Linked DNA regions of Homo sapiens: all the other regions are linked to region 1. The links are contacts of gene promoters, found by promoter capture Hi-C in blood cells and fetal thymus (Javierre and others, 2016). All regions are on one chromosome and are shown on one strand. The core of a region is centred on a gene start or on the middle of the fragment in contact, and the rest is flanking DNA. Distances in the headings are between cores, read along the strand shown.

The links. Contacts are between HindIII fragments. The CHiCAGO score rates a contact against its expected background, and 5 or more counts as called.
Region 2: a fragment that was not itself captured here is called in contact with the fragment with the promoter of KLHL20 in region 1 in 2 of 17 cell types (neutrophils and M1 macrophages); the score reaches 6.3 in neutrophils.
Region 3: a fragment that was not itself captured here is called in contact with the fragment with the promoter of KLHL20 in region 1 in 13 of 17 cell types (megakaryocytes, M1 macrophages, naive CD8 T cells and 10 more); the score reaches 9.2 in megakaryocytes.

What each region holds. Positions count from the first base shown.
Region 1 is chr1:173,712,800-173,717,043 of GRCh38, forward strand. KLHL20 (kelch like family member 20) reads left to right here and starts at 2,182. Exons shown (of 12, transcript NM_014458.4): 1 at 2,182-2,279; 2 at 3,204-3,267. The coding sequence starts at 3,245. It also overlaps a transcript of ANKRD45 not described here. RefSeq lists enhancers at 2,086-2,275, 2,356-2,725. The HindIII fragment of the contact is 9,904 bases long and covers 1-4,244 here.
Region 2 is chr1:173,409,240-173,413,483 of GRCh38, forward strand. All of the region lies in intron 2 of LOC100506023 (a long non-coding RNA gene), which reads right to left. It also overlaps a transcript of TNFSF4 not described here. Among named protein-coding and RNA genes, the nearest start is that of PRDX6-AS1, 50 kb to the right of the region's middle. RefSeq lists an enhancer at 1,460-2,009. The HindIII fragment of the contact is 6,231 bases long and covers 1-4,244 here.
Region 3 is chr1:173,437,295-173,441,538 of GRCh38, forward strand. The region is part of intron 1 of PRDX6-AS1 (PRDX6 antisense RNA 1); the gene reads right to left. All of the region lies in intron 2 of LOC100506023 (a long non-coding RNA gene), which reads right to left. It also overlaps a transcript of TNFSF4 not described here. Among named protein-coding and RNA genes, the nearest start is that of PRDX6-AS1, 22 kb to the right of the region's middle. The HindIII fragment of the contact is 1,267 bases long and covers 1,325-2,591 here.

The DNA.
Region 1 (4,244 bases), core at 932-3,431:
AAATAAATTAGTGCAGTAGTTCTCAAATTTTACCATGCACTATAATCACCTGGAGAACTTGTTAGAACACAGATTACTGGGGCCCACCTTCAGTTTTTGATTCAATAGGTCTGTAATGGGGCTCAAGGGTTAGCATTTTCCAAGTGATGTTGATGCTGCTGGTCCAGGACAACACTTTGAGAATCACTGAATTGGACCTTCATTGATCAACATGGACAAATCTTACAAACAGAATGTTGAGTGGAAAATGGAAGTTGCAAAAGAATACATATGCTTTGATACCATTTATGAAAAGTTTTAAAATATGGAAAAGAAATCATTTTACTGCATATGTATATATATCACATATACACATGCAGTAAAAATTTTCAATAAGATCACAAAGCTAGTCAGTTACAGGTCTAGGATTTGTACCTATGTGTATCCGTGAAATCGCCTTTGCAAACTGAAACCCCCTTTGCAAAAATTCTATCAGTGAGAAAATTATAGCAGTGGAGGAGATCTGATCTAGCCAAACCCCATCTTGCCTTTAGCTTTCAGTCTGTCCTTAATTATTCCTGGGCTTAAGCCAAGATAACTTTGGGAGACATTTAGTTTAATAGTTTAAATAATTACAGTCCTTCCCCAAAACTCAATTGCCTTTGTAAAGCTAATGAGAGACCACCAGACAACGGGGATAGATGAGCCTGAATTCTGTTAAGTGTAGACATAAGTGATTGCCAGCCATTATTCCAGAGGTCACAAGATATGCAACTTCCCCAATTACTCCTACAGATAACATCACTATTGTAGAATCTAGGATTGGCCTTTTTGGGTATATTTTTAAGTTTTTTGCATGTTTGACTACTGATGGCTCCACCTGGACCCACCAACTGTTCCTGTGGCTCCACCCAGAAACAACTCAGTAGGCAGGAGGACCATCTCCCATACCCCTATGACTGCACCAGTCAGCAGCAAGCACCCATTGCCTAGCCACCCCTACCCCTTTCCCCAGACTACCTTTGAAAAGAAACCTAGCCCCCAAATGCTCCAGGAGGCCGATTTGAGTAATAATATAACTGATTTGAGTAATAATAAAACTTCTTCCATTTTTCCACTCGATGTTGTGTAAAACTCTTTCTCCATTGCAATCCCTATACCTTGATAAATCATCTGTATCTGGGCAGCAGGCAAGAAGAATCCACTGGGCCACTATATCTGGATCTAAAGGCCATGTATTTTCCACTACAAGCTAATTAACAAGAGGTATCCTTTCCCCTCAGAAACAACTGGACACACCTGTGTAGATTCTACATAAAGAACAGCTAAAGAAAATCTGGTTAATACTTAGCCTAGTATACTTACCAGGAAATCAGCAACAGTCTTTCTCTGATATTCCTGAAATTGTAATCCCCACCTTACACTTGTATCACTTGTTTTCTAAATATTAATATACGGTAAAAATCAGGTGGCTGTGTGCTATGGGAAAATCTGGAGGAAAAGATAATTTTAAAAATATACTTTTTTGGCTCTGCTTGCTACTGAAAAAAAATTTTTTTAAGAAAATATACTCTTCCCTCCTTAACATTAAAGTGAATCCACAGAAGATGTGTTTGGTGAAGTGTCTGGTGGTGAATACTAAGTAGAAAGGGCAGACTAACACAGCCTTAGAGCCTGGATAAAATCCTGGTGTCCTGAAAGTTTGACCGTGGGAAATCTGGAGGATAAGGTCTATCTCTGGTCTGTCTATCTAACTTCTGCACCTTGCACATAGTAGAGGCCTGACAGATACATGCCAACCCATGTGTGCATGCAATAATTCAATCCACAATTAGGAACATTGTGCCAAAAGGAGACCCACCAACTAAAAAGAAATACAAATTCTTAGCTTTCTGTGACTACCCTTTACTGCCTTTGCTGGCGAAAACAAAGAAGAAAAGAGGAGGCTTCAGTATTCAAATACTGCCAGTTCCGCAGTGAATTCTAAAAATGGTTACTCTTGGGATACAAGGAACCCCCACGAGGATAAACAACCTCTGAGGTTACCTGAATGCCCCAGCAAAGGGCACGACTACTTCCGGAGCCGCACCGGAACCCCTTGGCGGATTATGTGGGTTCCTGCGGGAACGATTTAAGAATAGGACTACTTCCTGCTTCTGGATATGGGCCGGTGAAGGGAAAGGAAATAGCTCTACGAGCGGCATCCTGCCTGCGTTAGCGGCGGTGGAGGAGGAGGCAGAGAGGAGTGGAGGGCGGAGTAGACGGAGGAGGCTGCTGCAGAGAAGAAAGTGTCAGAGCCGGTAAGTGAGCCAGTCACCTTAGAGCAGGGGACAGCGGACAGCGCCCCAGGGCTCGCTTCGCAGATATGTGGTCCCAAGTTGCTGAGCTGCCCCATGGGGTCAGGTCGGTCGCCTGTCAGTCGGCGCCGAGAAGAGACTGTTGGGGCGCTGGGGCCGGGCCTCGCGGAGCGCCAGAGTGCGCTCTCGCTGGCTGACAGCCTATCTCGGGAGCCAGAGGAGGCCCCGGGCTTTGTCCTGCCTGGTGGTGCTGGGGTTTCGCATCCTGGACAGCTTCCCCAGACAGTGTTTGGAATTCAGGGAAGGAAGAAAGTACGTGCGCCCCCATTTAACCCTCGGGACCTGGCGAAATCCTGCTACGTGGGTAGTGAACATTGTATCGGGGACTGAAGGAAATGCTTGTAAAGAGTGTTAGTCTGGAGCCATACTTTCCCTGCCCTGTTCAAGCTCCCTGGACTGTCGGAAGCGGAGTTGTTTGTAAAGGCAAATGCAGACGCCTCCTCCTCCTGTCACTTCGGGACAAGTTAACAATCTTCAGATTCGTTATTAAAGCCTCGTGTACCCTATGTGATCTATCAGGTTAGTACTGCTGTGGGTATCTGGTGCTTGTTCTGTAAATATACTTGATGTCGAGATCACAGTTAAATATCTCCAAGCACTTTTTGAAGAGAAACAAGACTGACCTAACAGTCGGGACTATTTAGCATACTTTCCCTCACCTTTACTTTAATCGTTTTAGCATGCAGAGTAAGGATGGTAATCTTAAATGTACTAGATTAAGTTATTGTGCATCTGCAGAAGGCCTGTGGTATAATAGGATATGAAACTCTTGATAACTGACGAAATGAGTGAAATGATTATATAAAGATTGTTACTGTAAAGATCAGAAATAGCTTTTATTAAGTTCCTGCTTTTCTGTTGTCTTAGGTTCGGCTTTAGAGTGTGGTGAAGGGTACTTTTCATGGTGCATGGAAGGAAAGCCAATGCGCAGGTAGGCATTTAGGAAGAAAACCTTTGGTTTCACTGATTAAAATTCAGCATGTAATAATTTAAATTTTTAAAAAAGAGTTTCAATCTTACTAAATTCTGCTTGGAACTAATGAGTCTTGTTCTACAATAAATCAAAAGTAATATTAAGAATTAATAGCTTTTTAATAGAATAAAATACAGAAGTTGTTTCTGAAAAGTGCTGTGGATTGTATGTAGTGCTAAACACTTAAATTTTCCTTTTTTCATGTTTTTTACAGTAAATAATCATTAAGTTCATTATGATACTATATGGATTTATTATAATCTTCAGTTCCCTATAAAATGTAGAGGATTCTGTTCCCATGTAAGAATCATAATTATTTATAATATACTGTACTGCATGCCTAATTATGGTTTTGGTTATTTCCTTGATGTTCAATCATACATTTGTTCTGTTAATTAAAATAGCTGCATTGTAGGGAAGATTGTATAAGGACTAAAATAGGTATTAGACATAATAACTTAGTCCATAGAAAAATAGAACAATGTCTGGGAAAATATAGACAATAAATAGGCCCTCCCAACCCTAGAATTTAATAATGTTTTTTCTCATTTTGTTCTAACAAATGAGACTAGAATCTTTATGATACAAAATCATCCCAGTTCTATTTCTTTGGTTTTTACATTTGTTTTCTATTTATTGAACTCTATTTAATCATTTGTTATTTAACATCAAAGATAAACAACTTCTGCAGTTCTTTTAAGAGAAGAAACATTTTATAATGGGAATATGACTTATAACTCAGAACTTGGAGCAAGAACCAGAATGTATATCTTTATCCAAATCTGTTATTGGTTTATCAATTGACCTTGAGCTGTTCACCTTCTCTGTACCCCAGTTTACTTCTTTAGTGTATCTGATCAGGATATTGGGGATTAATGAACATTTGCAAATGCTTTAAGATCTCCAGATGAAAAGATGTTATCAAGATGAAAAAT
Region 2 (4,244 bases), core at 1,006-3,505, 300 kb before region 1:
CCCTACTCTGAGAGGGTCAAAGAGGCACAACAACCAAATGCAGTGCTTGATCCTGAACTTCTGCGATAATCACATTTATTGGGACAGCTGGGGAAACTGGAATGGTGTCTGCAGATTCAATGTTAGTAATGTATTAATGTTATTAATACTTTTATAACTTAGATAGTTGTATTATTTTTATATAGAAGAATGTCCTTGGGTCCAGGAATGATACATTCAAATATTAAAGTGATACGGCATCATGCAATAATTTCCTCTCCAACAGTTCAGAAAAAAAAGTCATTATACTATTCTTGCCAGTTTTCTTTAGGATTGAAATTATTTCAAAATAAGAAGAAAAAATTAAATTGAAAGTCATCAAACTTTTTAAGGTAAAGCCCAAGACTACAGAATTTATAACTGAACTATTGTGTATTCCCTGAAGGACATTTGCTTTTAGTGATTTTTTCTTAAAAATCAAGTATTCTTTTCTGGCATAAAAATATGACTCCCACATGCAAATCTAATCTACAGTGTGAGAAGTGCAGGCAGTGGTTACGCTGGCAGGAGGATGAAGGGGAAGTGGTGGCTGGCAGTAAGCCCTGAGGAGCTCCCGCAGCTCTCCATGCTTCCTGATCTAGGCTCTGAGTGCACGGGTGTAAGTCCTTTATGTACATGTACACCCTCCTGCTGCATTCAAGGTTTGTACTCTTTTCTGTATACATATTATACTTCAATAAAACATAAACTTAAATTTTTTAAAAAACCAGGTGCAGTGGCTCACACCTACAATCCCAGCAATTTGGAAGGCCAGGGTGGATGGATCACTTGAGCCCAGGAGTTTGAGACCAGCCTGGGCAACATAGTGAGACCTCATCTCTACAAAAAATCAAAAAATGAGGCGGGAGGATCACCTGAGCCTTGGAGGTTGAGGCTACAGTGAGCCGTGATTGCACCACTGCACTCCAGCCTGGGTGACAGAGTGTGACACTGCCTCAATTTAAAAATAAAAAATAAAAAAAGACACAGGCCTTGATCTTAAGAAGTCCACAATCCAGCATAAACAGAAGATGATGACAGCTGTCACAGTTGCATGTCTGACACCCACAAACCAACAGTGAATCACCAGACTAACCTACAAAGAAGCTCTAAATTTGCGGTTCAACAAGAATTCAAGGAATAAGGTTACTGGGGCCCAGGAAAGTAAATAGATACATATATACATTCACTCACTCACTGGTTCTCCGTATACTCACTCATCAACTCCCCATTTCTTCTTCTCAAATAAAAGTTGTAAATGGGTGTCAAGATTCTATTTTGGTACCACCTTATTACTACCTTCCTCTCACAATGGGAGGGAACATTCAAAAGACATTTAAAGGGACTTGGTCATAGGAAGCCCCCAGTGGTACCTTAATAGTTGTGAGCATGTCTAAGTGAGCCCACGTGGTGGAGATGTGATGTCAGAGATGGGAAATGAGGGAGTCAGAAGTGGTCTCACCATGTCACTGGCCTCCAGGTTATCATCCAATGTCCATCATTTCCTACCTGCTGCTAGTGAGAAGACCTTGGTGCTCCTTGGACTGAACTTTGGCCTAGGACTTGCCTGAAGCTCTGTGTACAGCTTTAAACCCCAACTTTCCAGCACTGACCACCATGACAGGACGGAACCCAGTGTCCTGGGGTAAAACCCAAGGGGTAGCAGCTGCACTGGGGAGACATGTACCCAGTCTGGACTAGTCCTTAATGTGTGGTTTTCACCTTCATGAAGGCCTCTCATGCTTCTTTCTTTGACAGGAAGGACTTGGGGGAAGTCCCTCTGATTTCCCCCTGCTGACACTGGTCCGCTTTGGCCGCTTGACGTGTGTGGGCTTCCTGAAGTCTCTGTTGCTGCGGACCAGGGCATATCACTTTGCCCATGGTCAAAGGAAGAAAGGAAAATTTCCACCCACCTGAGATAGGCTGCTTCTATCTTCAGCCTGAGGCAGAGCAGTCATCACTCATCACCAGCACCCCTCAGGTCTTTCTTTGCTGGACTAGTGTCAGGGGCAGGGGCAGGGGCGGGGACAGTTCAATCCAGGAGACCTGGGTTCCAGCTGTAGTTCTGGTTTAGCTGTGCTTCTTCCCTAGCTCTGTGATGACAAGCAAATTATTTTTCATGTCTTCACCTTGGCTTCCTAATCTGGACTATAAGAAGGTATTTTAAAATAATCTCTAAAATCCTCTAGAATATAAATTCCATGAGGATGTCATCTTGCAGCAGAAGAGCTCAATAAAATATTTGATCAAGAAATAGTTAGGCTGAGTGCAGTGGCTCACTCCTGTATTCTCAGAACTTTGGGAGGCTGAGGTGGGCAGATCACTTGAGGCCAGGAGTCTGAGACCAGCCTGGCCAACATGGCAAAACTCCATCTCTACTAAAAATACAAAAAAATTAGCTGGACATGGTGACACACACCTGTAATCCCAGCTACTCAGGAGGCTGAAGCATGAGAATCACTTGAACCCAGGAGGCAGAGGTTGCAGTGAGCCAAGATCACACCACTGCACTCCAGCCTGGCCAAAGAGTGAGACTCTCTCAAAAAATAAAAATAAAAAAATTTTAAAAAGGAAATAGTTGGCCGGGTGCAGTGGCTCATGCCTGTAATCCCAGCACTTTGGGAGGACGAGGCGGGCAGACCACGAGGTCAGGAGTTCGAGACTAGCCTGGCCAATACGGTGAAACCCCGTCTCTACTAAAGATACAAAGAATTAGCTGGGTATGGTGGTGGGCGCTTGTAATCCCAGCTACTCAGGAGGCTAAGGCAGAATTGCTTGAACCTGGGAGGCGGAGGTTGCAGTGAGCTGAGATTGCGCCATTGCACTCCAGCCTGGCAACAGAGCAAGATTCCATCTCAAGAAAAAAAAAAAAAAAAAGGAAATAGTTAAAGGAATCTCTTCTGAGGTCAACTGCCCCATGTCTCATCCACTTGGCCTGCCTCTGATTTCAGCCACAACTATAGTAAATAGACAGTGCCTGCAAAGCTCAGACTCACCCTGTGACAGTGCCCCATCTCAAGGCCAGCCCTACAAGTCTATCTGCTTTCTGTCTTCGTTTCTGGCTCAGCCTCACTGCCTCACAATCTCAAATGCAACAAAAACATTTTACTTCTTCGTCCTTCAAAGTCATTAACTTGCGCATGATCTCAGAGTGTGCAAAGATTTTCTAAACAGAACAAATTAAAAGCATTAAAAGATTTTCTAAATAGAACAAATTAAAAGCATTAACCATAGGAAAGACTAGCGATTTGAACTAATATTCCTAAAAAGACATCGTTAGGAGAGTCAAAACGCAACTATGAGCTAAGAAAATATATTTGCAATATATGTATTTAGCAAAGGACTCATATCCAAAATAAAGAACTGCTGCAAGTCAGTAACAGAAAGATCAACAGCCAGCCACCAAAGATTACATATTATTCCATTCATATAGAATTTAAAAATGGGTAAAATTTCCATTAATGGTAACAGAAGTCGGAATAGTGATTATCTTTGAGTGGAGTATTACAGAGAAGGACTACAAGGGGAGGTGCTGGGCTGATGGAAATGATCAGTATCTCAATCTCAGTAATGATTCCACAGATGTATACAACGGATTTTATGTAAAATTCATCAAGTTGTATACTTTGTACACTTTGCAACAGATAAGTTTGAGTTCAATAAAAAAGGGGGTGGGAATCGAGGCTGTTTAGGTCACATACTCACTCCTGCATCCAAGGGAATAGTGTGTTGATTGGCTTGGGACGGGGTCCTATGGCCCATCCTGAGGGCTGAGGATGGAGCCCACCCAGACCAAAAATGGACAGAGGAGGGAATCTCCAAGGGGGATTGAAAAGTATTTGCAGAAGATGAGGAAAAAGATGTTCTAAGGGAGACAACTAATTTCTAATGGTCAGGACAGAGGTGGGCCTTACCTTTAGCAAGTGGAGCTGGAAAATATAGGAGAGAGAGAAAGACAGAGACACAGAGACAGAGAGACAGGGGCAGAGAGATGCAGAGTAACCAGCCGTCGGCTTTCCAATTCTTTGTTCTCACTCCTGTGAGTGAAGCTGCACTTCCTATGTGGGGGTTCTGAAAGGTTTCCCTGTATCTGTGGGGGAACTTGTTATTCTTTTTGACCATCTGGCATTTTGAGCCTGCTTTTAATTGTTTGGGGAAGTTCCCCACCTTATGAATCTTGACAGGAGGCAGAGTTGCCTCCCACTCTCAGTGCTGAAAATGCCAGT
Region 3 (4,244 bases), core at 708-3,207, 280 kb before region 1:
ACCCAACCTGAGGGTGGCCAGACAAGGTCTCTCGGCTTTTTCTTTTTTAAGTACTTTAACTTTGTTAATTTTTTTGTTGTAAATAGCTTATTATTAATTATTTGCTTATTAATTTAGTTTGTAGCTTTAAGTTATTATATAACCAGTTCTATCAGTCTTTTCCTTTACAGCTTTTCTGTACTTACAAAGGTCTTTCTCACTACAAAATTATATAGGCATTCATCTTTATTTTCAAGTTTTTTAGTGTCCTTCTCCCACATTTAACTAATTCCATTTGGAATTTGTTTTCTTGTACTCTTTTAGGTAAAAATCTATTGTTACTTTTTCCCAAACTGATTCTCAATTGACCCAAAACCACCTTTTGCCTCACTGTATTTTTCTTCATTTTTATCACATGCTAAATTCCCACATACACTAGGGTTCATATGTGGTCACTCTATTCTGTTCCATCTATATACAGTCCATCACTCTTGTCTTCAGATTCTGTGGGTTTATAATACATATTAATATCCCATTGCAAACATTTTTCCTACTTATTGTTCCTATTCAAAATATTCTTAGTTTTCTTATTCTTCCATCATAAAATTTTCTGCACCCCAAGAAAATGTTTTACTCAGAACATAAAAGAAAAATTAAAATCACATCATCAATTCCCATCACACCTGCCCCTCCCCAATAAAATCCCACTAGAATTTTTTATTGGAATTGCACTAAACTTAAATATTAATTTGGGAAAATTTGTATACCTACAAAACTGAATCTTTCCATTCAGAAACATGGTATGTCCCCCAGTAAAAACAAATACATTTTTATCCTAGTACTTCTATTTCTTTAATTAAACCCTGACTAAATTAGAGAGTATCTAGGTAGAAGACTCACATTGTCCACCAAAGTCTACCATGGGTTAATTTTGTTTCAAAAACATTAAAACCTATACAACATGAAAAAAATAAATAAATACATTTTATAAATTGTTTTAAGTTGGCATCCTTCATACAGGTCTAGCAAGTTTCTTGTTAACTTCAAGGAAATAGCATTTTTATGGCTCTTAATACACACTGCTCCAGGAAATTTCCACTTCCACCAGCATCATATAAGACTGAATGGGTCCCCCTGAAAATTTGAGCTGATTAAAAAGTATCTCACTGTAGATTTAAAGTGTACTTCTTTGACCACATATATTTATCAGCTGATTGTATTTTTTTCTTTGTGAACTGTATCTTTTGCTTATTTTCTATACTTCGACTTACCAAGTAGAAGTATTTTTCTCAATAGGTCATTTGCCTCTTAATTTTATTATATTTTCTGATATATAGAATTAAAAAGCTTTCCATACTGGCAAATCTCTTCTTTGTGGTTTCTTCAGTGGCATTTATGCTTAGTGAGTCTTACAATTCAAAGATCATGTAATATTTGTGTATATTTTCTTCTATTTATTTATATGTTCTACTTGTTTTATATCTCATGCTTAAGGTCTGAAGAAAGCTGAAAGATCAGTCTTATCCAAGCTCATGTGTAACACAGACTGAGTAAAAGTCCAAGGTCATCTGCCTCCAAGTTCAGAGCTCTTTGCACAACTTTCATTTAGCATGTATCTTCATGTACCCACCATGTGGCAAATAAATGAGGCTTCAGAGAGTAACATAAAGCACAACCCTCATCTAAAGAAGTTAAATAATTGCACCTATAAAACAATCTGAGACTGCCCCACCCCATCAATACAAGCTGAGTGAGTGACAAGCTACGTGCAGAGAGAGAGGAGAGCTCTGTATGCCAACGGCCAGAAGCTGTCATGGAAGGTAGATCTGAGTTCTGCAGATCCAGTCCTGGAGGAGTAGATTGAGTTCACTGTATCCCAGCTGAGCATATCTCTTCAACTTTCACTGATGAAGACATTTCAGAACAAAGAGCTTCTTTCCTAATCAACCACACAATGTACATGCAAATGTCTTACATTGTTACAGTCAGCAGAACTCCTCGCTCCAATTATTTCATGATCAGTCTTGTTTCTTTCTTCTGTTCTGCTATTTACTACCTATAATGGTCAATTCCTAATGACTCAGCAGCACACAAAATGTTTCTTCTCCAGAATCCCCAACATCTCAAAATTAGACTCTGCCATAGTGAGCACAGCTACTGTCCTTTGGATACCACACTAGCAGCCCAGCCTCTGCCCACCTGCAGCAGGGGTTCAGGGGGCACCAGTGGCTCTGCCTTACTGACTCTTATCAGAGAGTGAATGCCCTGAGTGGCAGCCTGTGGCCTCAATCCTGCTATCCCTCACAGAAGTCAGGAGGAAAGGGACAATTGAAGGAAAGAAGAGAAGAAAGTTGTATGTGACAAGAAGCTAAATAACACCAAGTATTGCTATAGGTGCCAGTCAGTGACACCAGGGACACAGGCTGTCTAAGTCAACTGGAAAGGCCACTGAATCTTCTGCAGGCTTGCTTGTGACCAGAAGGCCGCATGATCCCTCCCCTCCTGCCACCACCAAACACAAAATTTCTAAACAATTCATCAAGCCTACCCTCCTCCAAAATTCAGAGGCTTGGGGGGAAGGTTGTTTGCTGCCAAAAGATCTAACAGAAGAAAGCTTACATGCTGATCAAGTTTTAATAACGTGGTTAACAAGAAATGTACACCATTTAGCAAGCACACAAAGACTGTGGGTAGGAACTACTGAACCCTGGAGTGTCTGGCTCCCAAGCCCATTTTCTGCCTACCTTTGGCATAGCTTCATAGTTACTACATTCAGAGAATCCCTTTCTACCCTTATTCTATTGAAAGGATGTGCTCTTCCCTTGCTTTTGGTCTAGGGCCTGGTTGGAGCTAACTAGGCTTGGCTGAGTCTGGGAAAGACCTTCTTCCGTTGCATGGACAAGCCCCAGAGAACATGCAGAACATCGACCTTTACACTGTCTGTCTTTCAGGCAGCCAGTGAAATCACTATGTGGGGATCTTCCATGACATATTTTGTTAATATGGGTTTCACTTTTTCCAAGAATAGTCCCTTGTTGCCACAATGTTGATTTACTTTATACAATGACAGTATGTATTAATTTCTAATTAAACCCATCCAGATTGTTTTAGCCTTTTCCCAATGGGGTGGGGGAGGGAAGAATAATATTAAAATAAGTTTTAAGAAGTAAAAAAGAAAAAAAAACCTACCCTCCTCCTGGGTGAGAAACACAGTTCTGTCCATGCTTAATTCCACCTTGCTTGAAGATGATGCTGTTCTTCCACACTATAGAAAACTATATTATCTGACAGCAGAAGCTTCAAACCAGAATATAACTTTCATTCTGGTGGATAACTCATCCCCTTTCTTATTCATATAAGAACCAAGCACTTTGGTCAAAGCAGTTAAACAGTAAATCAGTGAAGCCTCTTGTTGAATCATCTTTTCTCATTTTATTTGCTTGCATTGTGTGATCCTCATACCAGCTCCTACGTAGACTAAAAATAGGTTTATTTTTTAATAAGATGCAATATCTAGACATTATGAAATGACACATTCTCAATCTTTCCTAAAAATAATTAATGCAATCTGTAAGGTTTAAAATCCATCAAAGCAAAATACAGGCTATACATATTAATACAATCTAATATTAATCACTAAATTTCTAAATCTTTAGTTCTAAGTAATTTTGTCGCAAGGTGAAGATGTTTAAAATCCCAGTAGAAAATATTCTGATTGTCAAAAATAGACAATAAAGATGGAAATAAAAATAAAAGCTTAGAATATTATTGTTACTAAACCTCTGAGTGCAGTCAGAGCAGGGGTAACCTCCTCTCAGGGCCTGTGCCCAAGGAAACCAAAACAGTTCAACTCCAACCACCACACTCACCCCAAAGCCCAGCAGGCTCCTCATCTTCCATTCCACAGTCCACTTTTTTCTCCTATCCACCCTCTCCAAACTTTTCCTCCCTACTTGCTTCTTTTACTTCTCACCCTTTTCTTCTTTTTCATCCTTTTTCCCCTCCCTTCTCTTTGCTTTTCCTAGTTTCTACCTCAATCTCACTTCCTCTCCTTCCTTATAGCTCCCCTCCCTTACCATTGCTCAAGCCCTATAATCCCAGCACTTTGGGAGGCCAAGGTGGGCGGATTGCCTGAGCTCAAGAGTTTGAGACCAGCCTGGCCAACATGGTGAAATCCCATCTCCACTAAAAATACAAAAAATTAGCGAGGCATGATGGTGTGCACCTGTAGTCCCAGCTACTAGGGAGGCTGAAGCATGAGAATC